Regions from separate parts of the Homo sapiens genome. Here region 2 is linked to region 1. Evidence: promoter capture Hi-C in 16 types of primary human blood cells and fetal thymus (Javierre and others, 2016). All regions are on one chromosome and are shown on one strand. Each heading gives the region's core, a stretch centred on a gene start or on the middle of the fragment in contact. The rest is flanking DNA. Distances are from core to core; before and after follow the strand shown.

Region 1 (4,910 bases), core at 695-3,194:
CCATTCCCCATCCTCCCAAAGCCCCCACGCGGTATCCGGGGGCCGTCCCCCTCTCCGCAGTCCCGCGGGTGGAGGGGATTCAGGTGCGCCCGGCCCTGGGGGTGGAGCGCTCGGCCCGGCGTCAGCTCATCGGCGCGGCGCAGCCCCGGACCTCAGCCGCAGGCCCAGAGGCGCGCGGTTCCCGGCCGGTCAATCAGGGAGGGCCTCCGGGAGGAGGTGGCGCTGCCCGCAGCCCGCCCGGCTCACCTGCGCCCTCCTCACCTGCGCCCTCCTCACCTGCGGGGCCATGCGGTCCCTTACCAGCAGCCGCCCGCCCCGGGGCGAGGAACCTCAGCCCCCAACATCGCCACCCCTCCAGCCTCGCCGGTCCTAGCCGGCGTCCCTGGGCGTGTCCCGGGAAGCGCACGTCCACGCTGGCGCTGGACCGGGTTTTCTGACTCCAGGGACGGGACTCGTCCTAAAGAGTCCGGCTCAGATGCGGTTACGCGCCTCACCTCACCCGGGTGCGGACCGCCAGTGCCTCCGCCCTGCACTCCGCGGGCCCTGCCCAGCTCTTCCCGCCGGAGGGCAGGTGGCCCCCGCCCCGCCCCTGCCAGGCGCGCGATTTTAAATCCCCCCAACCCCCGTCTCTCAGCGTGGCCTGGGAGGGGGAAGCCGCCCGGCTTCAGGGCTTCCTGCGCCTTCGCCGCCGCCCTCCCTGCCCTTCCCCGCCGCCGTCCCCCCTATCCCCCCAGCCCGTCTCTTCCGCCTTCTTATTTTGTGCCTGGGCTCTCTGCTCCGCAAAAATGTTGACTTCCCACGGGCAGAGGTTTCAGAATTTTTTTAAAGCTTTTGTCCACGGCGTTCTCTACATCTTGGTTGAAGGAATGGCAGCCTGCGGGGTGCCGTCTGGGGCCCCCGTCTCCCTGCGCTTCTCGCCTCCTCCATGCGCAGGAGGCGGTGGGGATCCGAGCCTCAGCCCAGAGGCGGGGGCTCCGGGAGGAGGGTGCCCCGCTGCCCTGTCTAGCAGCCTCACCCAGGCCCTTCCGGAGGTGCCTCTGCAGAAAGGGAGTCACGTCCCCCCTGGGCCTCACCTGGCTTGCAGGGATCAGGGAGGGAGGGCGGGGTGGGCTGGGTGCGGTGGGGAAGGAGCAGGGACTCTGGGTCCCACCCTCGGTTGCGTGGTGCAGCCTTTCCCAAACCAGCTGCCCCAGACTCCAGGCCAGACGCCACTGCCAAGGCTGACGAGCCCAGAGCCGCAAGCCTGCCTCGGTTTCTCGGCGGGGGATCCTCAGAGCCAGTGTTAAGCAAAGAGGCTGCGCCAGCGCCCTTCACACCCCTAGAAGGCTAGGGGAGCAAGGCTAGGTGGGGGCGGGCTGGGGCTGGCCCAGAGGGTAGAGCCCGCCCACTTTCCCTCCCTCCTTCCATTCATGCATGCGTTCATTCAGTCATTCATTCCTCAGCAGTCGCTGAGCTCACTCGCCTTAAGTCCTGGAGATCATCGGAGCGCAGCCGGCCAGGGGCCTGGCGCTCTCCCAGCCTTGGGGCCTGGGTCCCCGGACTCCTGCTCGGGGAGGGCCGCAGGACCGGCGCATTGTGCGCGGCGCGGGGAACGGCCCTTGCCTCCCACGGTGCCCTCCCTCGCTGCGCCGGCACCCGCAGCACCCCTGGCCACCTTCCTGCCGGGTACCCCCCACCCCTGCGCTTCCCAGGGCACCTACGGCGCCCAGGTCCGCGTCCAGGCGGACAGGCCGACCTGCCTCTGTCCCGCCTCCGGCCGACGGGCACACGCCTGGGCAGAGCCGAACTTTCCGGAGCCGCCGCGCAGCGCCCCGCCTCCTGTCCCGGGGCGGTCTCGGTCGCCAGAGGAGCCAGGCCGGGGGCGGGGCGGGGACGGGGCGGGGACACGGCTGCCTCCAGCACACCGCGCGCTGGGCGCTCAGAGCCTCGGGCGCGGCGGGAGCGCAGTTAGAGCCGATCTCCCGCGCCCCGAGGTTGCTCCTCTCCGAGGTCTCCCGCGGCCCAAGTTCTCCGCGCCCCGAGGTCTCCGCGCCCCGAGGTCTCCGCGGCCCGAGGTCTCCGCCCGCACCATGCGGCTGGGCAGGTGAGCCGGGGAAGGAGCGGAGGCGCCGCGGTCAGGGGCGGGGTGGCTCGGCCCGCGCGTCCCCAGCTCGGCTCGGACGCGGGGCCTGCGGGGCTCGCCTGGAGGTGCCGGGCTGGCAGTGCGGGTCCGAGGAGCGGGCGGCGGAGGCGCCGGGGCGGCCGGCGGGGCGTGGACGGCAGTGGGCGGCGGGGCCTGGCACCGGGACCCATGGCAGGACGCACAGCCGTGCGGGGGCGGGCTCGGGGGCGGGGTCCCTGCCAGGGAAGGAGGACCGCGAACGCTGGAAGGAGGGAGGGAAGGCGGGCGCACCCTGCACGCCGGGGCACGGGCGCTGCCCCTTCCACTCCCTGGCACTGCTGATTTCCTAGAAGAAGGGAGAAGGAGGGAGGTGACCGGCCGAGCGCTCTCCAAGGCCAGCTGGTGCCCACGGTCTGCGGACACGCCCTCCCCCACACACGTGGGATTCCCCGCAGCCCGGCAGCCGATCCACACTGGGGAAGGCGGGGCTGCCTGAACCAGGAGTGACAGCTTCCTCCTGGATTTTTGCGAAAATATCCAAAATATACTCTTCGCAACCCACGTTGTAGGGTCCGCAGCCTGTGCTCCCCTGGGTGAACCTGTGAGGCCCCTGACCCCAGGGATGCCTCCCGCACAGCTCAGAGCTGGGCCACACCGGAGTCACACTCCCCAGGTCCCCTCCCCATTAGAAGTGTATGCAGTTATGATCCTGCCCTAGAGAGAAAGAATTTAAAGGTCCCGGAATGTCATAGCCCTCCCAAATGTCTTAGCCCTCCGCCACCCACACCTTCAGGTAGGCGGCCCTGTCCATGCTGGGTCTTGAGGCAAGCTCGGGGTGGGGGTAGGTTAGATGCAGGGGTGCTGAGGGTCCAAGGAAAGGACACAGAGGCCGCTGCTTAGGCAGCACCCAGGGAGGGGACAAGCCAGAAACAGCCTGGAGCAGGCACCCCCCACCCTGGCCCAGGAAGCCCCCAGATGTCCTGAGGAGGCCTCCATAGACAGGAGGGGCCTTGTGGGCTGGTGATGAATATGGGCACTGTGGGAGACAAATGGGGGCACAGAGGAGTTCTCACAGCTGTCGTTTAGATGGTGGCTCTGGGGAAATGCTTGAAGGGGCTAAGGGTGGAGGCAGGGGGCCTGCTGGAGGCCATCACAGCCATCTTGCCAGCCAGAATGGTGGCCCCAACAGGGGGAGTGGGAGAGAGAGGAAGGGCCGCCTGCAGACTTCAAGAGCCCCTGGTGGCCAGGGGCCGCCTTGGTGCATGTGTGCTCACTTGGCACAGACACACCTCCATGCAGACTCAGATGACAGCCATCGTGGGTGGGGCAGGGGTTTCTGTGGCTCCAGGGCTCAGGGACAGCCCACTGGGAGGTTCCCACAAGACCAACCTTTGACTTACAAAGCCCCCAAGCTTTCCCAGGCAGAGGCCACAGAGAAGAGGGATGAGCGTCTCCCAGACCTTGGAGGTGCAGGGACATCAGAGAAGGAGATGTCCCTGCTCCTGGGGCTCTTGCTTCATGGGGAGCTGGCCCCAGAAACTGATGGTTTGGGGGGCTGGGGTAAGCACTGCTACCAAAGTGGTCCCGGCCACTAAGGGCCCCCACGTGGGGAAGGCATCCTGGGGGCTGGCGGGAGGAGGTGGCGAGCCTGTGGCGTGCAGGGTGCAAAGGCTCCCAGACCCAAGATGGCAGGGGCATTGGAGTCACGAGGGGAATTTGCTGCCCGAGGCAGGGGCACCAGCTGCAGCAGGATCTGAAACAGGAGGAGCTCAGGTTTGGTTTCAAAATGATCCGCGTTCCGCACAGGGCTGTCCCGTCACTCACCTGACCCTGTCACGGGCACGCCTGATGTTCTCCGTCTCCCCAGCATTTTAAGTGACACTCCTACTATATGTGCCCTGAAAGCTTTTTTTTTTTTTTTTTTTTCTGATTTCCTACAACTTCTTGGCATCTGTCCCCAGGAAGGCTAGACCAGCCTCACTGGCGTCCCTCGCTCCCCTTCATCCTCACGCCAGCATCACTGTGTTTCTGGGGATTTGTTACCGCGAGAGCTAGAGAGTGGTGAGAGGCTGCCAGCCCCTCGGACTTGCTGTGCTGGGCAGGAGGGTGGTGGTCCTGGCCCCGGACCCCGAATTCCCATGGAGAACAGAGGCAGGCAGGCTCCTGGCTCTGCCTTCACATTTCTGTGATGGGCTTAACTACCTCCTGCTCATGGGAACCAGCCTGTTCCTGTTTGGAAGATACAGGTAACTCCCTGGTGGCCCCGCCTCACCTGCCTTTCTGGTTGTTTTTTCCAGTCCTGGACTGCTCTTCCTGCTCTTCAGCAGCCTTCGAGCTGGTAAGTTCAGGGGGTGCTTTGCCATGGGGCGCCCAGCTCAGAGATGGGCTCTCCGGCTGTGTGGACTGCTGGCCGCAGGGCACTGGGAGCAGCCTCACCAGGCTCCTTCTTGCTTCTCAAGTGGTCCTTTGGAGACAGTTGGACCCTAAACCTAGGTTGCTGCACAGGATAGAAGCGTTTCCTTAAAGGGAAACACTTCTGCAAACTCCGGAGTTCTTGTTTGACTCCGTCTTTGTTGCGGGCAGAATGCAGTTCCTCTGAGCCAGGGCTTCCTGGGTCCCCTGGTCTCCCTGTCCCAGGCAGCAGCCCTGCTGAGCCCTAAGAGCCACCAGCCTCTGGAAGAGCCAGGAATAAGGACGAAGCACCGCAGCACAAACCTGAAACCTTGCCAAGCCTTCCAGCCCAGAGGGCTTTGGGGGCAGGGGACACACACAGATTTTCCTGCAGGTGCCAGGTGCAGTGGCTCACTCC
Region 2 (4,910 bases), core at 1,807-4,306, 89 kb after region 1:
GAGTCAGCTGCTGAGCTGGAATCAGGAACTAGGCCTGGCTGGCCAACACTGCTTGTCTGGGCAGTGAAACTCATTCCTCATGAGGCCCTCCAGGCGACTCGGTGGCCTGGCCGTGGGAAGAACGCCTTGCCCCGCCTTCCCCTCGCCCCCACCGCAGCACCAGCCAGGGTGCTGCGCTCCTCTCGCTGGGGACCTGCCAAGTCATCACCAGAGATGGAATCTGCCCCGTCAGACGTCCATACCACGCCCCCAGGGCCCTGAGATCAGGTCCCCAGGAGGAGCGGGGAAGGGACTGGCTGGAGCCCCGGCAGTCCTGAGCTCCACGAGAGCAGGGTCTGCCCGCTCAGGGAGGTCTGTCCTTTTGAGGCCAGGCACCCAGTCCTGGTCATCCGGGTCCACCCAGGATGACCCTGCCCTGTTCCTGCTTCTCCCAAGCACCCGTGACCTGGGAAGCCTGTCACAAACACCTCCCTGGACAATCCACGCTACAGAGTGCCCTGCTCCATTCCCACCACAGCCTCAGGCAGCACTGGCACCCACAGCAGAGGCCACCCTCACAATCTCACACTTCAGGAGCCCAGATGGGATGCTAGCCAGGTTCCCTAGAGGTGGCTTTGCCGGCCCAGGCAGCCCCATCTCTCCGGGACCCCACTGCTCCCCGGGTCCAGCCCGGACCCTGCAGTCGGCAGTGGCTCCATAAAGAAGTAAAATGAGAATATGCACGGGGCCCACACTTAGGGGACTCGTGTCACATGGTGTCCAGCATGGCTCGTGGGTGAGGACAGCAAAACCACCAAGAAATGACCCGAGAGGCCAACAGCAGCTCCCCGGGAAGGCCTGGCAAGAAATCCCCACAACCACCTCACATCCATTATCAACAAAAACAGTGACAAGTGTCGGCGAGGATGTGGGGAAACCGGAAGCCTTGTGTAGCGCTGCTGGGTTGGAAGATGGCGCAGCTGCAGGGAGAGCAGGAAGGCAGTTAGTTCCTCAAGTCAGAACGAGCACATGACGCGGCAATTCCACTTCCAGGCGTGGGCCCAGCAGAACCGAAAGTGAGTCTCAGAGAGACACCTGGCGCCCATGTTCACGCCAGCATTATTCATACCAGCTAAAACATGGAAGCAGCCCGAGCGTCCATCGCCAGAGGAATGAACACACAAAATGTGGCCCACGCACACGATGGAATATTTTTCAGCCATAAGAAGGAAACTCTGACACACGCTGCAACACAGATGGGCCCCGAGAACATGACGCTAAGTGAAATTGAGAGATTTTGTTAGTGGCTTGAAACCATCATTGTATTTGCTCACAATCCCGTGAGTCAGCCGTTTGGTTTGGGCCGGTCTCCTGGCCTGGTCTACCCAGGCTGCCCCCACCCCTGAAGCCACTTGGTGGTTAGTGCCGGCCAATGACCCCATGGTGCACACCTGGTCGACTTCCCAGGTTCCAGTTCCTCCCCTCTAGGACAGCCGCTGGGCCTCAGGGTCGGGGTGACTGAGGCTGACGGAGATGGCAGTCTCTTCCACGGCTGTGCCCAGGGAGGCTGCCAGGCACCCATCTACGCAGCAGCACAGTCTAAAGCCAGCCAGCCCCTCCCTCGGCCCCCACCCACGCCTTTCTCACCACGGCTGGAGGCCCCAGGAAAGCAACACAGACACGGGGGTAGGGAGCACTTCCAGACCCAGCAGGAGCCTGGAAGGCTTCCGCAGCCACACCTCTTCCACAGCCACACCCCTTCCCCAGCCACATCCCATTCCTGCAGGGAAACGCTCGCAGCAGCTGGGGTGAGTCCTGGAACTGTCTCCCCTGCTGGGTGCCTGTCCAGGCACCAAGTCCTGCTTGTGTTTTAGAGCAGGCTAAAAGCGGTATCATGCCCAATCTACACCTAGGCATTTGGTATTGAAACTGCAGAAAGTTAAAGAAACAATCTTGAAAGAAGCCAGCAGCGGGTGGGGAGGAACACCTAAACTACAGACAAAGAATACATTCATTTCTTATAGAATTAGTTTTGACTTTACAGAAACTGTGCAAGTAAAAATACAGTGGACTGAAATATTTAAAGTGTTGAGAAAAAATCCACAAGCCTAGAATTCTGTATCCAGCGAAATTATCCTTCAAAAGTCAAGGAAAAATAGACTTAGACAAAAATTGAGAATTTGTTACTAGTAGACCTGCTTTGCAAAAGGTGTTAAAAGTTCTTTAGAGAGGAAAAAAAATGTACAAGTCAGAAACTTGGATTTACATAAAGAAAGGCACGAGTGATCGAGAAGGAATAAGAAAGGTAATAAAAGCTTTTATTTTTCTTACTCTTTTTTTTTTTGAGACAGGGTCTTGTTCTGGAGTGCAATGGTGTAATCACTGCAATCTTGATCACCTGGGCTCAGGCGATCTTCCCACCTCAGCCTCCCAAGTAGCTGGGACCACAGGTGCACACTACCATGCCCAGCTCGTTTTTTAATTTTTGGAGAGATGGGCTCTCACTATGTTGCTCAAGCTGGTCTTGAACTCCTGGCCTCAAACGATCCTCCCACCTCAGTCTCCCAAAGTGTTGGGATTATAGGTATGAGCCACAATGCCTGGCCATTAATCTTAATGGAACAGACAAAAGTTTGTTAAAGTTATAACAATGTACTTGATTATATATGCTTATGTATAAGTGAAACTAATAATAGCAGTGATACAGGGGACAGGAGTGAAGAATTGGGAACATACTGTTATTAAAAGATACTTTTGGTGGGGCACAGAGGTTCACGCCTATAATCCCAGCATTTTGGGAGGCCAAGGCAGGTGGATTGCTTGAGCCAGGAGTTTGAGGCCAGCCTGGGCAACGTGGCAAAACCCCGTCTCTATAAAAAATACAAAAATTAGCTAGGTGCTGTGGCATGCGCCTGTGGTCCCAGCAACTCAGGAGGCTGAGCCAAGAGTTCCAGGATGCAGTGAGCCGTGATCACACCACTGCACTCCAGCCTGGGCGACTGAGCAAGACCCTGTCTCAAAAAACAACAAAACAAAAAATACTTGGGCTACCGATTAGCAAGCAGTTCAGTGTTATTTGAAAGTGGGCTTGAAATAGTTGGAAATGTGTATCACAAAATCTAGGGTAACCACTGAAAATGTGAAAAAGTATAATTGATGTCTAAGAAAGAATAGAAAATAAAATCATAAAATGGTCAATTAAAACCACAAAAGGCAGAAAAAATAAAAAACAAAAACAAAAAATAGAAAATAGGAACAAACATGGTAGATATTAATCCAACTATATCAACAGTGACTTTGAATGTCAGTGGTATAAATGCACCAATTAAAAGACAGAGATTGTCAAAACGGATCAAAAAATAAGACCTAACTATATGTTATCTACACAAAACCCACTTTAAAAATAAAAACAATGGCTGGGCGCAGTGGCTCACGCCTGTAACCCCAGCACTTTGGATGGCAGAGGCGGGCGGATCACTTGAGGTCAGGAGTTCGTGACCAGCCTGGCCAACACGGCAAAACCCCATCTCTACTAAAAATACAAAAATTAGCCAGGCGTGGTGGCTTGTGCCTGTAGACCAGCTACTCAGGTGGCTGAGGCAGGAGAATCACTTGAACCCGGGAGGCGGAGGTTGCAGTGAGCCATGATCTCATCACTGTAGAGATGGGTGGCAGAGCAAGACTCTGTCTCTAAATAAATAAATAAATAAATAAATAAATAGACACATGTAGATTAAAAGTAAATGAACAGAGGAAGAAATACCATACTCACATTAATCACAAGAAAGCTGGAATAGCTATATTAATTTCAGAGCACACTTCAGAGCAAAGAAGCTTATCAGGAATAAAAGGAGTTATGCATAATAAGGGGTGTGGAATATCTTTCCATTTTACCTCTTTGACTTATTAAAGTTTTATAATTTTCCTCACAGATCTTGTAAATATCTTGTTAGATTTCTACCTAAGTTGTGTGTTTCAGAGTTGCTATGTCTTCCTGGAGAGTGTGGCCTTCCCAGGGAGCTGCTGTTGGCCTCTCGGGTCATTTCTTGGTGGTTTTGCTGTCCTCACCCACGAGCCATGCTGGACACCATGTGACAGGAGTCCACTAAGTGTGGGCCCCGTGAATATTCTCGTTTTACTTCTTTATGGAGCTGCTGCTGAATCAGGGCCTGGGCTGGACCCAGGGAGCAGCGGGGTCCCGGAGAGATGGGGCTGCCTGGGCCGGCAAAGCCACCTCTAGGGACCCTGGCTAGCGTCCCACCTGGGCTCCTGAAGTGTGAGATTGTGAGGGCGGCCTCTGCTGTGGGTGACAGTGCTGCCTGAGGCTGTGGTGGCAATTGGCGTGGTGCACTCTGTAGCATGGGTTGTCCAGGGAGGTGTTTGTGACAGGCTTCCCAGGGTCACGGGTGCTTGGGAGAAGCAGGAACAGGGCAGGGTCATACCAGGTGGACCAGGACAACCAGGGCTGGGTGTCCGGCCTCACGAGGACAGACCTCCCACAGCAGGCAGACCCTGCTCTCCTGGCGCTCAGGGCTATGGGTACTCCAGCCAGGCCCTCCTGGGGATCTGATCTCAGGGCCCTGGGGGCATGGTTTGGACATCTGATAGGGGCAGATTACAACTCTGAAGACTTGGCAGGCTCCGGACTTACTATAAAGCTACAGTACTCACGACAGGGTGTTGGCAAAACAGACCAGTGAAAGCGGAGAGAGAGCCCAGAAACAAATCCGCATGGAGAGTCAACTGGTCTGTGACAAAGCGGCAAAAGCAATGCAATGGGGCACAGCCTCCACCAAATGGAGCCAAACAACGGGGCGTTCACATTCCCAAAATGAATCCCAACACACACATTCCACCCCTACAGCAATTCACTCAGAATGATCACAGACCTAAATGTGAAATGCAAAACTATCAAACTCCTAGAAGATAAC

The links. The method cuts DNA at HindIII sites, captures the fragments that hold promoters and counts their contacts. A CHiCAGO score of 5 or more calls a contact.
Region 2: a contact is called between a fragment that was not itself captured here and the fragment with the promoter of ICOSLG in region 1, in 6 of 17 cell types (total B cells, naive B cells, M0 macrophages and 3 more). The highest score is 12.1, in total B cells.

What each region holds. Positions count from the first base shown.
Region 1 is chr21:44,237,977-44,242,886 of GRCh38, reverse strand. ICOSLG (inducible T cell costimulator ligand) reads left to right here and starts at 1,944. Exons shown (of 7, transcript NM_015259.6): 1 at 1,944-2,083; 2 at 4,399-4,439. The coding sequence starts at 2,070. RefSeq lists enhancers at 1-184, 2,689-3,467 and cis regulatory regions at 1,218-2,133, 1,209-2,133, 1,134-2,133. The HindIII fragment of the contact is 2,685 bases long and covers 831-3,515 here.
Region 2 is chr21:44,150,183-44,155,092 of GRCh38, reverse strand. No RefSeq gene overlaps it. Among named protein-coding and RNA genes, the nearest start is that of LINC01678, 7.2 kb to the left of the region's middle. The HindIII fragment of the contact is 1,519 bases long and covers 2,297-3,815 here.